Regions from separate parts of the Homo sapiens genome. Here all the other regions are linked to region 3. The links are contacts of gene promoters, found by promoter capture Hi-C in blood cells and fetal thymus (Javierre and others, 2016). All regions are on one chromosome and are shown on one strand. Each heading gives the region's core, a stretch centred on a gene start or on the middle of the fragment in contact. The rest is flanking DNA. Distances are from core to core; before and after follow the strand shown. Region 1 holds the start of MALSU1 (mitochondrial assembly of ribosomal large subunit 1). Region 2 has its middle 11 kb from the start of STEAP1B-AS1. Region 3 holds the start of TOMM7 (translocase of outer mitochondrial membrane 7). Region 4 overlaps LOC105375186 (a long non-coding RNA gene).

The links. The method cuts DNA at HindIII sites, captures the fragments that hold promoters and counts their contacts. A CHiCAGO score of 5 or more calls a contact.
Region 1: the fragment with the promoter of MALSU1 here is called in contact with the fragment with the promoter of TOMM7 in region 3 in 7 of 17 cell types (total CD4 T cells, neutrophils, total CD8 T cells and 4 more); the score reaches 9.5 in total CD4 T cells.
Region 2: a contact is called between a fragment that was not itself captured here and the fragment with the promoter of TOMM7 in region 3, in 8 of 17 cell types (endothelial precursors, total B cells, naive B cells and 5 more). The highest score is 7.8, in endothelial precursors.
Region 4: a fragment that was not itself captured here is called in contact with the fragment with the promoter of TOMM7 in region 3 in 3 of 17 cell types (neutrophils, naive CD8 T cells and monocytes); the score reaches 6.4 in neutrophils.

What each region holds. Positions count from the first base shown.
Region 1 is chr7:23,295,385-23,301,248 of GRCh38, forward strand. MALSU1 (mitochondrial assembly of ribosomal large subunit 1) reads left to right here and starts at 3,955. Exons shown (of 4, transcript NM_138446.2): 1 at 3,955-4,224; 2 at 5,455-5,633. The coding sequence starts at 3,969. RefSeq lists an enhancer at 3,772-4,261. The HindIII fragment of the contact is 9,022 bases long and covers 2,126-5,864 here.
Region 2 is chr7:22,549,692-22,555,080 of GRCh38, forward strand. No RefSeq gene overlaps it. Among named protein-coding and RNA genes, the nearest start is that of STEAP1B-AS1, 11 kb to the right of the region's middle. The HindIII fragment of the contact is 5,185 bases long and covers 1-3,848 here.
Region 3 is chr7:22,821,241-22,826,799 of GRCh38, forward strand. It overlaps TOMM7 (translocase of outer mitochondrial membrane 7), which reads right to left and starts at 1,609. Exons shown (of 3, transcript NM_019059.5): 1 at 1,437-1,609. The coding sequence starts at 1,539. It overlaps LOC112267993 (a long non-coding RNA gene), which reads left to right and starts at 1,717. Exons shown (of 3, transcript XR_002956543.2): 1 at 1,717-2,459. RefSeq lists enhancers at 1,090-1,850, 1,520-1,599, 1,630-1,839. The HindIII fragment of the contact is 22,456 bases long and covers 1-5,559 here.
Region 4 is chr7:23,086,326-23,091,947 of GRCh38, forward strand. All of the region lies in intron 1 of LOC105375186 (a long non-coding RNA gene), which reads right to left. Among named protein-coding and RNA genes, the nearest start is that of KLHL7-DT, 17 kb to the right of the region's middle. The HindIII fragment of the contact is 3,684 bases long and covers 1,147-4,830 here.

The sequences.
Region 1 (5,864 bases), core at 2,705-5,204, 480 kb after region 3:
GAGGCTAGCTGCAGAGAAAGTGTTTGTGACTGCAGCTTCTCACCTTCCCATGAAGCCCCAGGACACAAATTTGGGAACCTTTTGGCTCTGCTGCTAACACAGCAAACAGGAGGCTCCCAAATTACCACACCAGGGATGTAATTAGGGTCTGTAATAGGGAAGTCCTTGTACTAATGGACTGTAGTTAATTTATAATTCCTGACTCAGGAAGTTGCTTTTGGCTTCAATCCTCTGGCTCAGTACCCCAAAGGTAGTGATTATCAAACCACCCCCACTTCTGATTCTGCCTTTACTAAGCAACCAATGTCTGAAAACAATGTCCAAGCCCATGAGTAGATGGCAGTTTTGGGGGAAAGAGGGGCATTTTGCATTTCTGAGAACCTCTCTAATTTTCCTCAGGAAATATGACCTGTAAAAATGGATTTTGGTAATTAACATTAAGGACATGCATAGTGCTGGCAAACCTTGTCTCTGAAATCACAGATGATGAGAAACTGTTGTTTGGAATCATTTCAGTGAGAATGGAACATCCCGGTCTTGCCTGAAGACTCCGCATGGGGGTCATTTCACATCATTCCACACAAAGACACAGCTTCAGCATCAATCCTCCCCAAGGGCCAGCACTCCACATTTATCTTAACTTTTATAGTTCTAAGGAACAAGGACCCTGAGTCTGTTTCTCAGCCCTGCTGCTAATCAGAATGTGATGTTCCTAGTGAAGCCTAAAATAATGTTTTTAATAGGACATGATTCTCCCCAGACCACACGACTCTTGTGAGTGACTGACCAATAACATCTCCAGCCCCTGTGAACATTCTCCTGTCTCCTGAACAAAGATTACTGAGAAAAATTCCTAAACTTCCCTTGCTTCAGGACAGCACCCAGTCCACAGCTGACACCACTTCCTCTGATCTCTCCTTAGACTCACTGAGCATAAGCACGAGCCCTAAACAAAGCCCCTTCTAGTCCCTCTTCCTGAGCTGCTCCTCTGTCCTCCATAGCATGCAGTCTCCCTTGCTACAGCGAGTTAATAAAACTAACTTTGGGCCAGGTGCGGTGGCTCACACCTGTAATCCCAGCACTTTGGGAGGCCAAGATGGGAGGATCACAAGGTCAGGAGTTCGAGCCTAGCCTGGCCAACGTGGCGAAACCCCGTCTCTATTAAACATACAAAAAAATTAGCCAGGCGTGGTGGTGCACGCCTATAATCTTAGCTACTCAGGAGGCTGAGACAGAAGAATTGCTTGAACCCGGGAGGCGGAGGTTGCAGTGAGCTGAGATTGCACCACTGCACTCCAGCCTGCGTGACAGAGCGAGACTCCGTCTCAGGAAAAAAAAAAACTTTGACCACACGTGTTCCTGGTTGTCTTTTTCTGATGGGCTTTATCATAATGACTGGGTTCAAGCCATTTCCTCTCCATGAGGTCAATTTGTAGACAGATACTAATTTCCATATGATTACTACATGCCAAGCACTATGGTATATAATTTGTGCTGCATATTTTATCCAATTTTTCGAGACTCTGTGAAGAAGGTATCATTCCCTCATTTTACAGATGAGGAAACTGAGGCTCAGATTAAGAACTTCAATAGTACACTGCTAATAAACAGAAGAGGTGGAATTAAATCTAAGTCTTTTCTAGTGGGGTATCATGCAGTCAAACATAAATGTTAAAGACATTTATGAACAAAGGGATGAGGGGTTTCTGAGGGGCCATCTGAGAGAGTAGGGGGAGATATCTTAATGCTTAAGGTATGTCTTACAGAGTGAGTCTGAGTTTGTCATATGAAAAAATGGGAAAAGGGTGCTCTAAAAAGAGTAGTGGCCAAGCACGGTGGCTCACACCCGTAATCCCAACACTTTGGGAGGCTGAGGCGGGTGGATCACTTGAGGTCAGGAGTTTGAGACCAGCCTGGCCAACATGGTGAAACCCCGTCTCTACTAAAAATACAAAAATTAGCTGGGGGTGGTGGCACGTGCCTGTAATCCCAGCTATTTGGGAGGCCGAGGCAGGAGAATTGCTTGAACCCTGGAGGCAAAGGTTGTGGTGAACCGAGATGGTGCCACTGCACTCCAGTCTGGGTGACAGAGCGAGACTCCATCTCAAAAAAAAAGTATATGCAAAGCTTGGCATTGAAAGGATATGGTGAGGTTGCCAGGCATGGTGGCTTATGCCTATACTCACAGCTACAGTGGGGTAGATTGCTTAAGGCCAGGAGTTTGAAACCAGCCTGGGCAACATAGTGAGATCCTGTCTTTAAAAAAATTAAAAACAAAAATTAGCTGGCCATGGTTCCACATGCCTGTAGTCCTAGCTAATTGGGAGGCTAAGGCAGGAGCACCGCTTGAGCCCAGGAGTTTGAGGATGTAGTTAGCTATGATTGTGTGACTGTACTCCAGTCTGGGTGACAAGAGTAAGACCCCATCTCTTTAAAAAATAAAAATAAAAAAGGGTATGGTGAGTTTGAAAAACAGCAAAAAGCAGATAAAGCGAAAATGATTGTAGTTGATAGAAGGGCAGCATGGAGGATGAAAAGAGTAGAAACAGACTGGAGACAGGAAAGCCAGGTAGGAGGCAGTCTCTGTAATTAGGCAAGAACTAATGAGGGTGTGGACTAAGGAAGAAACAGTGGAAATGAAGACAAGAAGCTGAACTCACAGAAACATTTTGGAGGTCACATAAGCAGGATTTTGACAACAGATTCGTTTGTTGTATGAAGATCCTGGACTGAATGAAGTCTAGGGTTTGGGAGTTTTGAAGGGATAATGACCCATTAAATGAGCTGGCAAATACAGGTGGTAAAGCAGGTCTGGGATGTTCAGAGAAGGGTGGGAACACGGAATGGATGCCAGAAGCTGGGAGAAAAGCCAAGTTCATGCCTGTGGAAAAATGGAATTGAGGATGGGGCTAAAATTGGACAGAGGAAACTTAATCTGTAATGTTTTTCTTCTTTTCAAAAATAACTTGAAGTGGTTGTACATATCTGGTGTGATATACACAAATGCTTAATTTCTCTATTTTTAAAAAACTTCCCAAAATTAGTGCTTGGAATTATTTAAAATAATGTAGCAAACATTTTTGGAGTGCCTGCTATGTGTCTGGCACTGTTTCAGGCATTTGAAATATTTGCTCTCTATGAAGCCTTCCTTTCAGCAGTTAGCAGGCCTGGAGTTCAGAAGCCAGAAACTGGCTTCTGATTCTGACGCAGTCAGTAAGTGTATGACCTGGGCAAGTTGCTTCCCTGCGGCGTCCCACGCCCCCAAAACCCCCCACCCCCCCACCCGTGCCAGGAATCTATCGCAGTTCTCAAGTCCTGTGACTTAATACCGCAGCTGGCACCTCAGAATTCCTTATTCTTACAGAGCTGGTCCCCACAGTACCGCCCCTGGGCGTAAACTCCTCCATACAGGGAGTGTAGATGATGGGCTGACCTAAGAACGGTTTCCAAATGGTCCTTTACACCTCTGCCTCCCACCCCACTCTAGCCCAGGATAACAGATTTTCCTCGCGCAATTTCAAATTTGCAAGGGAATCTTGAATATTTTCTGGTAATGAGAGAGGGTAGATTATATGTCCTAATCCCAGCCTAATCAGATTAACAGCAACTTCTGGACATTCAGTACCAGGAACTGTTTTAGGTGCTGTGGAGAGAAGAGTTAAAAATGAAACAAAAATTATTGCCTTCATGAGCCTCACATTAGTGGACAGAGTCCAAAAAAAAAGTGACAACGTAATGCGCTACTGCGACACAAAGCAAAGCAAGGTGGGCAAGCAACACTAGTTCTTTATTCCCGCACGCCCTAATCCCCAAGTAGCTCTTCCGGGTCACTGCAGTCTTCACGGGCTCCAGACTCCGCCCATGGTCCGTCCTTCAGGCCTTGACTCCGCCCACGCATCGACGTAGAATTTCCCGGCCGGGCTCCATGAAGTACCACCCACCCGCGACGCCGACGCAAGGCTGCTGCTATGGGGCCGGGCGGCCGTGTGGCGCGGCTGCTCGCCCCACTAATGTGGCGCAGGGCGGTTTCCTCGGTGGCGGGGTCCGCGGTTGGAGCCGAGCCCGGGCTTCGGCTGCTGGCCGTGCAGCGGCTTCCCGTAGGAGCAGCGTTCTGCCGGGCTTGCCAGACCCCAAACTTTGTCCGCGGCCTGCACAGCGAGCCTGGGCTGGAGGAGCGGGCGGAGGGGACGGTCAACGAGGGACGCCCAGAATCGGACGCGGCAGGTACGGGCGTGGAGAAGAACGAAGGCGACCCTCTCCGGGCAGTCTGGAGTCAGGTCCCAGCCAAGGTGGCTCTGGGTTCCCCTCTATGTGCATTTCTCTTGGAGTCACAAAACTCCTGCACATCCAGAGCTGGAAGGGACTTCAAAGGTTGTTGGCGCCAACCTTCCCGTTTCACAGTGAAGAAATTGAGGGCAAGAGATGAACTGCAGAATCCCAGCCTCCCGGACGGCCATCTCCCACCCTTGGCATCACAGTCTCACCGTCCTCACTTCCTTTTACCCTCTTCCTAGGATCCTGGGAAATGGGTTTGTGGGGACTGTTGGGGCTTGAGGATTCTGAGGAGCCAGGGTCTGGGTGCGAAGGGGTGCGTAGGAAGCGCCAGTAGGAGATGGGTCCAAGTTAATATCCTCTAGTTATTGCTGACGTTTTTAGAAACTTAAGAATGGTAAACAGATCACATCTAAGAATGTAGAGTATGAGAGGGAGAGGCCTTAGTGGGCTTAGCTACTAGGTCCTTTGGAGTCGGCTTTAGAACTTGGGCGAGCTTTTAAATTTACAGCCTGTAATACTCCAAGCTGAAGATCAGAATATCTAAATCTTTACGGGAAAAAAAATTAGATTTTCATAGGTAACAGTTGTTAATAACCCGGTGGTTTTATATGAAAACTGGAAGGTTCAAAATAATAATTACTCAAAAATGTAGCTCTTTCAGTGACTGATCTTAGGCCACAGTAATTCTCCTAGGCCTCAGTTTCTTCATCTCTCAACTGAAGGTTGTGGACCAGATACTGCCTAAGAGCCCTTCCAGCTCACAATTCTGTGACCCGTTATGACTGAGATTCAATTTAATATGCTCCAGGATATCACCTCCTACCCATTTTGTGGTGCTGTTTTTCTTTGCACAGCATTTCTGTGATTGTGGTGTATTGCTCCTTTTAAGTATTAGTAGAAAGTCATTTGTCACTGGTGTCTGGTTCTACTTGCATATGGTTAATAGCGAAGGATGTATAGTGGCTCTGCGTAATCTGAGCACCCTGACCATAAAAGTTGAGCGGTGCTATGATACTACTGCCCAGGTTCACCTTCCAGGAGGCCTTTACCCTGCTATCTGTAAAAACACTTTGGATCTAAACACCCTCATGGAGGAACAGTCAGCTGCCGGCATCTCTGGGTGCATACACGTCTATCTGCTTGGCCATCCTGATACAAACAACTATTTGTGCATTTCAGATCATACTGGTCCCAAGTTTGACATCGATATGATGGTTTCACTTCTGAGGCAAGAAAATGCAAGAGACATTTGTGTGATCCAGGTTCCTCCAGAAATGAGATATACAGATTACTTTGTGATTGTTAGTGGAACTTCTACCCGACACTTACATGCCATGGCCTTCTACGTTGTGAAAATGGTAGGATGCTTTCTTTTCTCTTTTGGACCATTAACTGAGTGGAATAGTGACAGTGCATCAGGCCAAGGAGCAACACTTAGAGGGTAAACCCATCATACAAAGTTACAGAAGAAGCCCAAATTTTCAGAATTTGCATGAATTCATTTTATGTTCTTTGATAGTGAAACATATGGGAGCAAATATCCAGCCCTATTGAGTTAGGATATATCAAAATCTTTTCTCTTGTGACCG
Region 2 (5,389 bases), core at 6-2,505, 270 kb before region 3:
CGACGGTCAGGCCCCTTTCCCAGGTGGTGCCGTGGTGGCCGTGGGGTGAGGAAAATATGTACGGCTGTAGCCCGTCCATTTCTCATCCTGGGATAGCGAGGGGTTTCCGGAGGAGGCGTCAGCGGTGGGAAGTGGGAGAAAGCGAGCAAAAGGGGCGGGGGCGAAGGAGCGGACTCGCCTGCTGCCGCGGGGGCGGGAATCCGCAAGCCAGCCTGGGAGAAGGGACAGAACAGCGGCTGATCCTTCCCTGGGCTAGGGAAGGAAAATAAACTGTGCTGGCCTCGGAGTGGGGGATGGAGAGGGGCGATGGCGCTGCATCTGCAGGACGTTGCAAGGGCTAGGAGCGGGCAAGACTAGTGTCGGCAGGAAGGTAGTGGTGGTGATGGCGGGGGTGTGTGGCAAACAGAGCCCGAGCGAAAGCCTGAGAAGGTTCTGGTTGCCCCCCAGCCTACTTTAGTCCCTAACCCTCCAGCGGGGCGAGGAGGGAGCGCATCGGAGAGGTACCTGTGCGATGGGCAGCGGTGCTTGGCACCTGAGCGTAGGTACGATACTCAGCAAGGCACCTGGGTGGGACATAGGAGAAGGAAATCTCCACCCCAACCCCCCAAAACACCGCCCAGAAGTGGGCGGTGAGGCCCAGTGCCGCAGCCCCAGGGAAATGGCAGTGACACAGGTGGCAGCCACCTTCAGAGCGCCAGGCCCCCGCCAGCACATCTGCAGGTAGCAGCTTTGGCCACAGGAAGGCGCATCTGCACTGCCGGGTTCGCAAAAGCGGGGCGTGTGGGCTGAATTCCCACTTTCAGCAGCGGGAGAGGCTGGAAGAGACTGGGTTCCTGCCACTTGGAATTCAAGCCCTGGACTGTGGTGGGGTCTTGGTTTGATAGCCTGATTTTGGTCGCTATTTTTGCCGGCTGACACTTTATCCTCCACCCCTCTTTTTTTGTTGATGGGATTATTGACATAGAATAAAATTTTCCAAGGTTAAGTGTACAGTTTGAGAAATTTTGGTAATTGTATCGAATCATTTAACTGCCATCATAAACAACATGGAACAGTTCTATCATCCTAAAAGTTCCCTCCTACCTCACTGTTCTTCACATCTGCTGTGACCACACAGCCCCAGGCAACTCCTCGGCTGCTTTCTGTTACTAGGTTTCCCTTTTCCAGAAAGTTTTCCAAATGGAATCAGTCTTTTTAAATCTGGCATCATTCACTTAGTATAATGTTTTGATATTCAGCCACGTTGTTGTGTGTCTTCTGTCTTGTTCCAGGGTATGGAGATACCACAAGTTGTTTATCCATTCACAAATTGGTGGACATTTGCGTTGTTTCCAGTTTTTGAATTTTACGTATAAAGTTGCTATGAACAATTTTATACATTTTTGTACACACAGGTTTTTATTTGTCTTTGGTAAACACCTAAGGAGTGGGAATGCTGGGGCATGTGGTAAATGTCTGGTTAACTTCATGAGGTACTGCCAGACTGTTTTCCAAAAGGGCTAACCCTTTTACATTCCCACCAGTAATGTAGAAGAGTTCCAGTTTCTCTGCATCACTTGCTATCTCCAGTCTCTTTAACCCTAGCTGCTCTAGTGGACATGTCTGACCATCACTTTTGATTTTACCCCATCAGGTCCAGGGTCTAGAGAAACCCCCTTGCAGAATGCTCCCGCCACACTGCTTCAAAAGCACGAAGGGTGCTGAGTAGTCGGCGAGTGTCAGAAGGCTCTGTGGCTGCAACCTTCCTTTCAGGCCTCCCAAGGATGCTGAGCAGCTGCTACTGTAGAACAAAGTTCTAATACACAGATGAGAGGGAGTGTTCTTATTGAGAGAGAAGTGAGAATGAATACCAGCAATACCCTCAAAAACTTCTGAATGCATTGGATATTTTTATAGCCAGCGGACAGTTGTCAGTTAATTGTGGCCTCAGCCTTGCAGAGACCCATCTGGAAATATCTTTAAATGGATAAACCTCAAATTACTTTCATCATGCCAAATGCATACTTCTATAGCTCATCATATGTACATAGTGAAAGAAGAAAGCCAAGCATGAATGATAGGCTAAACACATCTCTAAAAACATCATAGTGGGGGCGTAAGCACCGAGTTCTCCAGAGGGTCCTGAAAGATGCTGTTGACAAAATACCAGAGCACAGCAGTCCTATTCTAAGTAACACAGAACAGCCTTCTCACTGAAGCAGCGATGCGGAGTCTGGAGCCTTCTACCACATCCTGCTCTCATTCAGATGGGTAGGCTGCCATCTGCAAGAGCCAGCAGATCTGGAACCAGTGCAGGGAGATGGTGGGGGATGCGGGGAGTTTCTGGTCTCAGATAATGAGAGCGTATTAGTTTGCTAGGACTGCCTAGCAACAAAGTACCACAGACCAGGTGGTTTAACCAATAGAAATTTATGGTCCCACAGTTCTAGAGGTTAGGGGTTTCAGATCAAAGTCTCTGCAGGTTTGTTTCCTTGAGGGCTGTGAGGGAGAATCTGTTCCAAGCCTCTGTCTTGGCTTCTCACGGTTTGCTAGCAATCTTTGGTGTTCCTTGGTGTAGATGCATCAGCCCTATCTGTTTTGCATGGCGTTCTCCCTGTGTGCATGGCTGTCTCCAAATTTCCCCTTTATATGAAGACACCAGTCATATCAGAGTAGGGACCCTCCCTACTCCAGTGTGACCTCATCTTAACTAATTAAATCTGCAAAGACTATTCCAAATAAGGTCACATTCTGAGGTATTGGGAATTTGGGGGAGACCCAATTCAACCTGCAACAGAGGGTCTGGATATCTTTAAATCAGTTCCTGACTTTACCTCTTCCCAAAAATAACATGGGTGCTAATGAGGTACCCATTGGGCTGGATAAATCCTGGACTCAGAGAATCATCACAGAACCCACATGTCTGACTCCAAGAGGAAATGCACCAGCATGACCAGGAATTGCCAGCAATACTCTGCTGTAAGCATGTGGGTGGCCTGGGCATGGGGTAAGCTCCTGGGTTCTGCTAGGGCTAAACATGCTGCTTCATCCCCACACTCTTCACTCTGCCCCAGGACACCCTGGATGCAGCAGGGGAAACTTAGGCAAGGCTGGCAGCAGCACCCACCCCTAAATTTTGCTTCCACGAGCTCTAAGCCAGTGTACAGGTGCAGCAACTTGGAATCCCCTGGAGAACCACCTGCAGATTCTTAGTCTTCCTCATCTCCTTTCACCACCACTCCAGACTTCCCATTTGTCTCCCTGAGTGACTGCCATGGCCCCCTAAAGTTCCCCTCATTGCCATCCTTGATCCATTATAGTTTATCCTCAACACAGTAGCCTTGGTGATTCTCTTGAACATAATAGAAATTGTGTCAGGATGGGGACCGGGTTAAGCTACTCATGGGAAGGCTAAAACATGTGGTTCACACATATCCCTCCCTAGGACTCTGATGCACTGGATTCAGGGTGGCAAACTCAGGTAAAGCTGCTCTGAATCATTCAGAGTTCATGCCGGAGTGCCAACAAGGCCACCAGACTTGGAAATGGCCCAGTGTTTCCTCTCTGGCCACATCTCCTACAGCTTTTCCCTGGGTCACTCTAATCAGTCACTCTGGTGTCCTCACTGCTCCTAGAATGAGCTATCCCCCTCCCTACCGCAGAGCCTCTACCCAGGTATCTGTGAGGCTTGCTCCCCGCTCCTTTGAGACCTTGTTTCAAGATCACCTTCTCAGTCAGGCCTACTCTCACGGCCTCATTGAAAATTGCACCTGCTCCCAATCCCCATCACTGTGCTCAGTTTTTCCCATAACATTTTTCACCTTTTAACCTGATATCCTTATTCCGTCCTTCCCTGACACTAGAATGGAAGCTTCATGAGGGTGAAGAATTTTTGTTTTGTTCTTGGATATATGCTTAGGGCTAGACCATTGCTTGGCATAGAGTACATATTCAGTTTATGTTTGTTGGACAAATAAGTTTTGAAATAGACACATTCCCGGGCCGCATCCCAGATGTGTGGCATGGAAATTGCAGCACCAAAAGTGCAGTAATCTGCATTGCTGCAAAGCCCCCACTGTGTTTCTTGGGTTCACCAAAATTTGAGAACAAAAGTTTGAGTCCGAGGGGTGATGGAGCTACCCAGCCTCAGCCCCATGTCTCTGAAAAGCACAGAGAAGGGGGAAAACGAACCAGGCAGGATGACCTCCTGAGAGCATCTGATCTTCACTACCAGTCCCAGGTCTTAGATTTCCTTAGATTCAGGATGGGTTAAGATGACCTCAACCCACATGGCTAAGCTCCCAGCTGATGGGCCCCCTGCCCCTGAGCTCCGGGTTCTAAGGGAGATAAGGTTCCCAAGCCATAGGCAGATGAGGTGGATTGACAATCGGTTTACAAGGTGGGTGTATTAGTCTGTTTTCATGCTGCTATAAAGACATATTGGAGACTGGGTAATATATAAAGAAAGGAGGTTTAACTGACGCACAGTTCACATGGCAGGAGAAGCCTAGGAAATCTATAATCATGGCAAAAGGAGAAGGAGAAGGAGAAGCAAGTACCTTCTTTACTAGGTGGCAGGAGAGAGGAGCGGGCACAGGGGAAACTGCCACTTATAAACCATCAGATCTCATGAGAACTCCCTTCACTATCATGAGAACAGCATGGGGGAAACTGCTCCCATGATCCAATCACCTCCCACCAGGTCCCTCCCTGACACATCGGGATTACAATACGAGATGGGATTTGGGTGGGAACAAACAGCCAAACCATATCAGTAAGTGAGAGGTCACAGCCAACTATTCGGTCAACTACGCAGCCATGGAATTAGGCTCACTGGATCAAATTGAGTGGGAAAATCCCCTGCTTTTAGCTATTATCTAGGACATTTAGAAAGTCTCACAGTGGTGAAGGCAAAGAACTGAAGACTGGAATGGTAGGAGAAGTCTCGTTTGAAGCCAGGGGGAGTGAGAGGAAGTACCTTGTGGCCCCTCGGCTATACTAGCACGACCTGTGTCACACCTTTAGGAAGCTGGAGACAACATCGGAATTGGATCAGCTGGATGGGGGGCCATCAGGAAAGGCTGGATGCAGACTGACTTTGCTCAGGAAGAGAAAATTTAAAGATATTTTCAGAAGCACTCCTTTTCTTTTGATTTCTTCATAACCCTAACAATATTTGACTCATCATCAGAAACTTAAATTAATTATGAGAAACTCCAAGGAAATCTTCAGATCGTATGTCCCTCTAGTCCATCACTGGCCTCCCTGGGTGTGTGTAAAGGAAGGTGCTTACTCCTGTGGGCTCTCTCAGCCCTGCCATTCTGGGAGTCTAGGATTCTGTGTCCCACCCTCCTTGGGCTCCAGGGCACCATGAGTCCATCCATCATGAGCAAGGAGCCTAGGACAGCTC
Region 3 (5,559 bases), core at 359-2,858:
TTCTAGTAAAAATACAAAATATTAGCCCGGCATGGTGGCGGGCGCTGTAGTCCCAGCTGTGCGGGAGGCTGAGGCAGGAGAATGGCGAGAACCCGGGAGGCGGAGCTTGCAGTGAGCTGAGATCGCGCCACTGCACTCCAGCCTGGGCGAGGCAGACCCCGTCTCAAAAAAAAAAAAAAAAAAGAAAAAGAAAAAACTACAGCCTGGCCGCGGTGATTCACACTTGTAATCCCAGCACTTTGGGAGGCCGCGCGCGGGGCGGAGGCCGGCTGGAGGGGAGGTAGCTAACTTGAGGCCAGGAGTTTGAGGCCAGCCTGGCCCACATAAGCAAAACCCCGTCTCTACTAAAAATATAAACATTAGCCGCGAGCGGTGGCTGCAAGTCTGTAATCACAGCTACTCGGGAGGCTAAGGGGGAAGGATCGCTTGATCCCGAGAGGCAGAGATTGCGGTGGGCAGAGATCGCGCCACTACACTCCAGCCTGGGCACACAGCGACTGTCTCAAAAAGGAAAAAAGGAAAAAAAAAGACAGAAAAGAAAAGAAAAAACTACAGAATAGGTCCCAGTCTGCAACCCTAACTGAAAAATATTAACAAATCCTTGCAGTAAGTGACCGAGCCTGTTGGCACCAGCCTGTAGTCCCAGCTACTTGGGAGACTGAGGTGGAAGGATCGCTAGAGCACAGGAGGGGAAGGTTGCAATGAGCCGGGATAGCGCCACTGCACTCCAGTCTGGGTGACAGAGCGAGACTCTGTCTTAAAAACAAAAACCAAAAAAACCCCAAATCCTTTAAGTGCGCTATAATGGTTAAGACTATGGGCTCTGATGCCCCACTGCCTGAGCCCCTAACTCCCTCAGTCAGCATAGCTGTGCGACCTTGGCAAAAAAGTTTCTCTACGGCTGTTTCCTCACCTGTAAAATGGGGGCAGTAATAGAAATCATCCAAACCCTTCATCGTACAGGTAAGAAAGCAGAGGCATCCAACGACTATTATTATAATCATGCTTTCATGGCAGTGGTACTTTCACGAGGTGTCTCGATTCCCTGAACAGGACTCTTTCCACTTAGGACCACATGGAGCGGTGAGGAAAAACACCCCGAGAACCACCTAGTGCTAGAGAGTGAATTAGTGACTTTCACATCCACTGGGGTCATCCAACCCTCCCTACAATCCCGAGAAATATGACCTCCACTTTAAGGATGCAAAAATAGAAAAGGAGGGATTGCAAGACTGCTTAAAGACCATGCAACTATAAAGCGATAGAACGGGAACTCGAACTCAGGTTAGATCGGCCCCACTTGACCAGACAGCCTCAGGGGCCGTGCACGGCAGTGTCCCCTATTTTTCTCTCCCTCCCCCGACGGCCAAAAATGGGGCTGCTGTCTCCGCCACCCTCTTCCCTCCAGTCACTTTCCCGGTTCTTCTCCCACTGACCCAGGTAAATCACAAGAGGGATAAAGCCCCAGCGAATGGCAAACTGGCTCCCCTTGAAGAGCTGCTGTAGTCTCTGCTTGGCCTCTTTGCTCAGCTTCACCATGGCGACGGCCGTGTGGCGCAGGGAGGACCCCTTACAGCAACCACAGCGTCGGGAATCCGAAAGGGAAAGGAGGTGCGCAGGCGCCACACACGGCCTTTACGGCAGGAGTCGTGAGCGTCGCCAGCAGAGGTCGTAATTCATCGCCTTTAACCTTCCCTGCTCTTCCGCCTCGCCGGCAGTAGTAGGCGCATGCGTGGTTGCGATCATGGCTGGCGGTAACTTCGCGTTTCTGTTACCCATTTTTAAAACGCATCTTCAGGTGTTCCTTCCTTCTCATGGAAGGAACATTAATTAAATTCAGAGGGACTGGGTTTTAGTCCTAACTCTTATTCCTACTGGCTGTGTAACCGTGGACAAATTATTTAACTTCTCAGAATCAGGTTGTTCAAACCTGAGGTTGAACTGCAAAAAGGTTACGAAGTGACACTCAGTAGGGCCCGAATCCATGTTTTCTTTGATCCCAATCTTTTTTAAAAAAATTTCTTTTAATTACTTGCCAACATTTTAGAATTTGGAAATCTCACATGAAATTCTGGACTTTTGAAGCTGAGGAATTCCATTGCAACAATCAAGGAGACTAAATAGGAAATGACACTTCTGTTTGGCCATCTTGCCCTCATTGGTTTAGAATGGCAGTGGTTCTCAACCCTGGCTGCACATTAGAATCACTTTAGGAGAGGTAAAACCATACTCACGCTGGAGACCTACTCCTAGAAATTCTAAAGAGTTTGGGGCTGGGAACTGGCCATTGATCTGCCTTTGAAGTTTCCCAAGTGATTCCCAACCTCTGATGTAATAAATTTCTGGCTGCTGTCGTATTTGAGATTTGACCCCCCCAGGTCTAAGACTTAATTGATTTTTAAGGCTGTAAGACATTTCTAAGACTTTGACTTTTAAGACTTTCCTGCCTCATTCTGAAGGTACGTAGTCGTTTTCTGTGCCCAATGTCTGTGCTCCTAAAAATTTCCCCTTGCTGACCTCTGTGGCTTGCGCCTGTAATTCTGGCTATTTGGGAGGCTGAGGCGGGAGGACCACTTGAGTTTGATGCTGCAGTGAGCTGTGATTGGGTCACTTGCTGTAAGCTCCCAAAGGGTTCACTTTGCCCGCTGCCTGGACAGAGCCGATTGATCAACACTGGGGAATTACAATAAAGAGTAATTCACGCAGAGCTGGCTGTGCAGGAGACCAGAGTTTTATTATTACTCAAATCAGTATCCCATAGCATTCGGGGATCAGAGTTTTTAAGGACAATTTGGTGCGTGGGGAGACAGCCAGTAAGTCGGAAGTGCTGATTGGTTGGGTCAGAGATGAAATCACAGGGAGTGGAAGCTGTCTTGTACTGCCTCAGTTCCTGGGTCGGGGCCACAAGATCAGATGAGCCAGTTTGCCGATCTGGGTGGTGCCAGCTGATCCATTTTGCAGGCTCTGCAAAGTATCTCAAGCACTGATGTTAGGCTTTACAATAGTGTTATTCCCAGGAGCAATTTGGGAAGGGTCAGAATCTTAGTTCCTGGGTTGGGACCACAAGATCAGATGAGCCAGTTTACCTATCTGGGTGGTTCCAGCTGATCCATTTTGCAGGGTCTGCAAAATATCTCAAACACTGATGTTAGGCTTTACAATAGAGTTGTTATCCCCAGGAGCAATTTGGGGAGGGTCAGAATCTTGTAGCCTCCAGCTGCATGACTCCTAAACCATAATGTCTAATCTTTTCGCTAATCTGTTAGCCTGTATACCAAACCTGCACATGCACTCCCTGAAACTAAAGTAAAAGTTGGAAAGAGCAAAAAAAAAAAAAGAAATAGTTTATGTTTTGGTGGAGCTCAGATAACAACAGCAAGGGACAATATAATGACTAAAAGCACAAACCAACTGTGTGATCTTTGATCAATTATTTAATATCTCTGAATCTCAGTTTCCTTACCTGTAAAATGAAGCCAACTATATATATTTAAATCCTTACAAAATTAGTAAAATAAGCTATAATGCACTGCAATCTTACAAATTCCTGTAAGGATTAAAAGAATTTTTTTAGGCAAGAAGGGGATTTGTTTAGGGAAAGGGCTGTTATCATCTTTGTTTTAAGCTATAAACTAAAAGTTCTTTCCAAAGTTAGTTCAGCCTATGCCCAGGAGTGAACAAGGACAGCTTGGAGGTTAGAAGCAAGATGGAGTTGGTGATGTCAGATGTCTTTCGCCGTCTCAGTTATAATTTTACAGTGGCAGTTTCATCACTACAATCCAGCCTGGGCAACAGAGTGAGACCACATCTTTAAAAACAAGAAAAAAAAATTCACCTCATATTATAGTGTTCTTCTGCTAGGCTCATCATCATGAATAATAACAACCTGTGTCTACTATGCCTGTCACTGTGTTAAGTGCTGAAAAATAGTTCTTTTTTTTTTTTTTTTTTTTGAGATGGAGTCTTGGAATGTCACCCAGGCTGGAGTGCAGTGGCACGATCTCGGTTCACTGCAAGCTCCGCCTCCCAGGTTCACGCTATTCTCCTGCCTCAGCTTCCCAAGTAGCTGGGACTACAGGCGCCTGCCACCATGCCCAGCTAATTTTTTGTACTTTTTTTTTTTTTTTAAGTAGAGATGAGGGTTTCACCGTGTTAGCCAGGATGGTCTTGATCTCCTGACCTCGTGATCTGCCCGCCTCGGCCTCTCAAAGTGCTGGGATTACAGGCGTTAGCCACCGCACCCGGCTGAATAATTGTTCTTTTAATCCTTACAGGAATTTGTAAGATTGCACTGCATTATAGCTTATTTTACTAATTCTTGTAAGGATATATATGGTTTCATTTCACAGATAAGGAAACTGAGATTCAGAGATATTAAATAATTGATAAAAGATCACACAGTTGGTTGCTCTTAGTCATTATATTGTCCCTTGCTGTTATCTGAGCTCCTCCAAAACAGAAGCTATTTCTTTTTTTTTTTTTTCTTTCAAACTTTTACTGTAGTTTCAGGGAGTGCATGTGCAGGTTTGGTATATGGGTAAATTGCATGTTGTGGGGGTTTGGTGCATAGATTATTTTCTCACCCAGGCAATAAGCATAGTACCTGATAGGTAGTTTTTGGATCCTCACCCTCTTCCCACCCTCAAGTAGGTCCCCATGTATATTGCTCCCTTCTTAGTGTCCATGTATTCAATGCAGAAACTGTTTCTCATCTTTTTATTCAAATACCTCATACATAGTAAGAATGCAGTGAATGTGGCACTTATCCTGCCAGATGGGCTAAAAATACCAAAGTCATTTGCCTTCCTCAAACATTCATTGAGCCTTATTATATGCTAGGCACTAGAGATATAAGATTTTTTTTTAAACTGCCCTTAAGAATATCATGGTTGAATGGAGAAACATGAGTAAACAGATGATTCCAATGTAATGTGAATATATATACTAAGTCCCACAATAAAGTTATGCTCAAAATTTGACAGAAAGGCAGAAGAAAGACAACTAACACTGCCTAGAGGAGTCAGGGAACTTTTGAAGAACCCCATGCAGTTAAACTAGAGAGAGGAGTAAATTTGAAAACCATTAAGAAGGTGAAATCAGCAGGACTTGTCGGCCAAATGAATATGTAGGGCAACATTGAAAGAAGTAGTCAAGGATGACTGTCAAGTTTTGAGCTTGTGTAACATACTGGGTTAATCTTACTCCTTGACCTCCACAAAGTCTAAATTATGTAGATTTGATCCAGGACAGGTGAGCCCTAAAGTGGGTCTTAGCCTGTGGGTTCTTGGCTTTACCCAGGGAAGAATTCAAGGCCAAGCTGGTGGTAAAAGAAAACAGCTTTATTAAAGAGGTGTTACAGCTCCATGACTGCTCCTGCAGATATAACAACTCAGGGCAGTTTTTCAGTCGTATTTATACCTACTTTTAATTACATGTAGATTAAGGCAGAGTTTATGCAGTAATTTCTAGGGAAGGGGTAGTAACTTTTGGGTTGTCATGTCACTGCCATGGAAAGGGGTGGTAGCTCCCCGGTGTTACCATGGCAACAGTAAACTGACA
Region 4 (5,622 bases), core at 1,739-4,238, 270 kb after region 3:
AGAAAAAAAAAAAAAAAAAAAAAAAAAAAAAAAAAAAAAAAAAAAAAAAAAGACGGACTTCCTGCAGTCAAGCATGCACGCTAAATTGGATAGTAAAAGGACCTGTGACTGGTAAGGGTCATATAAGGACATGTTTTTTCCAGGTCACTCTGAATACTTCTTTGCCTCCACTGGATCTGTTTCTTCCTTGGGCTCTGATTTCATAATCTGCTTTTGCTCATTTGTTTTATTTTCCTTGGAGACCTCATCCTGCATCTTCAATGACTTACTGGACATTTTTATATGTACATTATCTCCAACTCAGTTTGTCTGAAATCTACCTCAACCAAAAATCCTTACAAGTCAATAAGAAAAAAAAATCCAAAAGAAAAATGAACAAAAATATAAACAGGCAATTCACAGAAGAAAAAATACAAATAGTCAATAAATGTATGAAAACATGCCTAATCTCATTAAGAATTTTAAAAATAACAAGGAGGTGGGAGGATTGCTTGAGACCAGGAGTTCGAGACCAGCCTGGGCAATATAGTGAGACCCTGTCTCTACAAAAACAACAAAAAAAGAAAAATTAGCTGGGCATGGCAGTGCACACCTCTAGTCCTAGCTACTCAGGAGGCTGAGGCAGGAGGATTGCTCGAGCCCAGAAGATAGTTAGCTATAATTGTGGCACTGTACTCCTGGTGACATAGTGAGACACTGTCTCAAAAATAATAACACTGAAAAGTCTTTTTTTTTTGTATGTCATATTGATAAAGATTTCCAAAACCTAGGATTCCATTGTCATTTTATATATATATATAAAGCTCCTTTTAAAAAGTGATCCCAGCCGAGCGCAGTGCTCAAGCCTGTAATCCCAGCACTTTGGGAGCCCAAGGCAGGTGAATCACAAGGTTGGGAGTTCGAGACCAGCCTGGCCAACATGGTGAAACCCCGTCTCTACTAAAAATACAAAAATTAGCTGGGCGTGGTGGCACACCATCTGTAGTCCCAGCTACTCGGGAGGCTGAGGCAGGAGAATTGTTTAAACTCAGGAGGCGGAAGTTGCAGTGAGCCGATGTTGTGCCACTGCACTCCAGCCTGGCAACAGAGTAAGACTCTGTCTCAAACAAACAAACAAACAAACAAAAAGTGATCCCAATATCTCCAAGCTTGTTACCAGCTTAAATCTGTTAAATCTTTAGGTGCTTTTAAAAGTACTAAGGCAGTTCAAATAACATTTATTGCTCAAATGTACAAAAGCCTCCATGGCCTCATAGTTGTTTTTTAAAAAACAATTTTATTGAGGTATAATGGACATAAAATAAACTGCATATATTTAAAATGTACAATTAGATAATTTTTGCGCCCGTTAAATCATCACCACAATCAAGATCATGAACATATCCGTATCCCAAAATGCTTTCTCTATCCTTTTTTGTTTTTGAGAGAGAAAGTCTCACTCTATTGCCTAGGCTGAAGTGCAGTGGCACAATCTCGGCTCACTGCAACCTCTGCCTCCCGAGTCCAGGTAATTCTCATGCTTCAGACTCCCAAGTAGCTAGGATTACAGGCAAGCACCACCACGCCTGGCTAATTTTTGTACATTTAGTAGAAATGGGTTTTCACCATGTTGGCTAGGCTGGTCTCTAACTCCTGGCCTCAAGTGATCCACCTGCCTCGGCCTCCTAAAGTGCTGGGATTACAGGTGTGAGCCACTGCACCTGGCTTCATACATCTTTTTAATCCTATCTTCTTATTCCTCCTTTTCTTAAACCCATGTCCCAGGCAACCACTGATTGCTTTCTGTCACTAAATATTAGTTTGCATCTTCTAGAACTTTCTATAAATGTGTACATTTATAGAATGATACAATGTGTACTTTTTGTCTATATTATTCTACTCAGCATAATTATCTTGATATTTATGCATTTGTTGTATGTTCATTCCTTCTTATTGCTGCAGAATATTCCATTATATGGATACAGTCCTTTTTTAAATCCCTTTGCCTACTAATGGATAGTGGGTTGTTTTCAGTTTTTGGGTATTATAAATAAATCTGTTTGAACATTTACATACAGGTCTTTGTAAAGACGTATGCTTTCATTTCTTTTGGGTCAATACCTAGGAGTGGAGTAGCTAATTCATATCGGAGGCATATTGTTAGGAAACTGCCAAACTGCTTTCCAAAGTAGTTGTACATTTTGCATTCCCACTTGGCAGTGTATGAGAGCTCCAGTGCTTCCATATTTTCACCACCACTTGATATGGTCAACTGTTTTAAGTTTAGATATTCTTTCAGGTGTAAAGTGGCATCTTACTGTGGTTTTAATTTGTATTCCCCTGATAAATAAAAATGTTGAGCATCTTTTCATGTGATTTTTTCCTACCTATGTATATTCTTTGGAGAATTATCTCCTCAAATCTTTGGCCCATATTTTCCCCAAATGGTTTTTTTTTTCTTACTGAGTTGAGAGTTCATTATATGTTCTGGATACAAGACTTTTATCAGTATGTGATTTGGAAATATTTTCTCCCACACTGTAGTTCGTCCTTTCGTCCTCTTAACAGTGCCTTTTGAAGAGCAGATGTTCTTAATTTTCACAAATCCCAAATTATCAGCACCAAGCTCAGAGGGGCATGTGAAGGTAAAGGGAGACTATATAGAGAAAATACGTAACACAGTGATTGGCGCACAGTAAGTGCTCACTAAATGGTAGTTTTTGTCTATTTTACTGAAGGAAAACATGGCTTAAATACTTAAAACTAATTATCAGCTTAAATCCCTCATTTTCTTACTTTATATGATTGTGAGCCTTGCGGGCAGGAATTGGGGATCAAGGCAATTTTCTGGGGCTCTTTCCATATGTGAACATTCACAGCCATGGGTAATTCTCTTTTGTTGGCAATGATAAAATTCTATTTGCTAGACAAAAGCATATACTAAATAATTTCAAAGCATTTTATTTTAAGAGATATAATCTAACAGAAATAGTGACAACCATTTAACATTAATCTAAATAAAATTGAAATAAAAAAGCAGACCAAACTTGTGTTTTCCGTTATTGGTTGTTATGATGAATGTAAATGAATTATTTCTAGGAGGGAAATCACTCAGTGTCAATTGTATTTATCAAGAAACATTCACTCCTATTCAAGTTATTCTTTTATGTCACATCAAACTCCTATTATCTTTTATCACAGTCATTTTCTGACAGTTATATGTGATAAAGCTATGGTAGCTGGTGAAATAGATAAAACAAAACAAAAAGGTAGTAAAATGGGCCGGGCATGGTGGCTCACGCCTGTAATCCCAGCACTTTGGGAGGCTGAGGTGGGCGGATCACGAGGTCAGGAGATCGAGACCATCCTGGCTAACACGGTGAAACCCCATCTCTACTAAAAATACAAAAGAATTAGCTGGGTGTGGTGGCGGGCGCCTATAGTCTCAGCTACTCGGGAGGCTGAGGCAGGAGAATGGCATGAACCCGGGAGGCGGAGCTTGCAGTGAGTCGAGATCATGCCACTGCACTCCAGCCTGGGCGACAGAGCAAGACTCCGTCTCAAAAAAAAAAAAAAAAAAAAAATAGTAAAATGGACAGAGTAGGAAGCATTATATATTACCCTTGAGTCCTGAAGAATAAAGAGAATGTTTATTCCCCAGTCATGCCAGGGCAAAAAAGAGTAATGACAATTTGTTTTCACTGAGAAGGGAGGCATTGCTGAACAATATGTGCCAATTTGGGTGCTAAACGGTATTAATAGTTTAGAGTTGAGTTTTGAGAATCCTACTACTAACCCACTGCCCTACCAGGCAGGGTACCCAAGTATAAAAGCCACCCGTAGACGTGAGAAGCAAGAGTCAGAAGGGAGAAAATACCATTTTATGAACAGCTAGAGAAGCACTCACAGCCCCTCAAGGCAGAACTCTGGCAGAGCCAGAGTGGAGAATGCAACTCGGCAGACAGCCTCCCACCCTGGCCAGCACCCCCTAAATCAGAAATGGCCGTGTCAGAGGGGCAGAGCTCAGCCTGACTTACACATCAAATTGCAGGCTGGAAGAAGCTCAAATAAATAGACCTGCCCAACAGATACAAGCCCTGCCTGGGCATTTTTCAACTTCATAGAATTAGATAATGAGTGATGAGTGTGGGTGCCGTTCTTTAAATGCATAGTGACTCTACCCACTAGTAAAATGGTACCCAATGACTATTAGGCTCTGACCAATTAGATTAGCAGCTACTCCTTCCTTGGGGCAGAGCTATTTCGAGAGGTAAAAGGAGTGGATGTCTGGGAAAGAAGCAAAATGTTTTGGCTGGTTAAGTGAGAGTAGGCAGACATGCTCCTCTTTCCCCCCATCCACGTTCCCCATCCCCTCCCCCATAAGGAGCACCTTTTGACATGAGCAGAAATATTGAAGCTGTGACACTTGGTGGAGAAAAGAGTAGTTAGTGTCCCAGTGGACTAAAAATTAGAACCTGAAATTTAATCATGCTTCAACCACATGCAAAGTGACTTTGGAAAAATGGCTTAGCCTTTCTATGATTATATTCCCATCCTTAAAAGAGAAACACATGTAAAATATCATAAGAAATAATAAATATGCAAATATCCTATGAAAAATAAAATAATATAAAATATAAGGAAGATTGTTTCTGATGGAGCAGATATATAATACGTAGGAGAAAATGTTAATTTCTGATCTGAGAAAAAAGAAGAGACAAGAAATAAGCAACTACTGGACCATGCAGTTTGAGACTGATAAAACTGGGATATTCCCAAGTACAAATTTTTAAAAAGGAAATAACTGGGAAATAATTTAGATTCTGGACTATAAACAATGTCAGAATCATAAGCTTAAAGTGACATAAGGATGGTGATGTTCGTTTTTAGAGTGGTAACACTTTGAATATTCCTAGTTTCCATGTTTATTGCCCTTTTTTTTTTGCTAATCATTCATTTGTTTTGGTTTTTGTATATAAATTAAATTTAATATAGATAAACTTAATATTATATAATTAGATGATTAGATATGCAAAATGCATAATAACCATGTACCTAGCATCTTGCTTAAGAAAAACAAAACAAAAATAAAACACACATTACCCAAAGTGTCGAAGCTTCAAGTGAACTCAACCTAAAATTCACCCATCTCCCTTCCTCACGTAGCTAACCATTATACTAATTTGGTGTTTATCATTCACATACTTTTTAAAAAATAATACTTTTACTACCGATGTGTCAATTTCTAAACAATACATTGGTTTACTATTTCTTACACTTCAACACCATTTTAATGGCTTCATAATGGTGCATCTTTATGCATCTTACTTTCTTTCCTCTATATTATGTTACTGAATCTATGTTTATTCCTATGGCTCTAACTCATTTTTTACTGCAATATAATTATGGTACAGTGTGCCTTCTTTATTATTTTCCTATAAGTGGACATTTAGATTGTTTACAACCAAAAAATACTGCCATGAATGTGCTATTCCCATATATCTCTCCTTGTAGATATGCCCAGTCTAGGTGTGAAGTTGCTTAGGGAGTATGCATTGTCAGCTTTACTAGATTTCGTCAAATTGTTGTCCAAAGTGACTGTGCCAAATTATAATATTGCCAGCAATGGATAAATGCTAAATA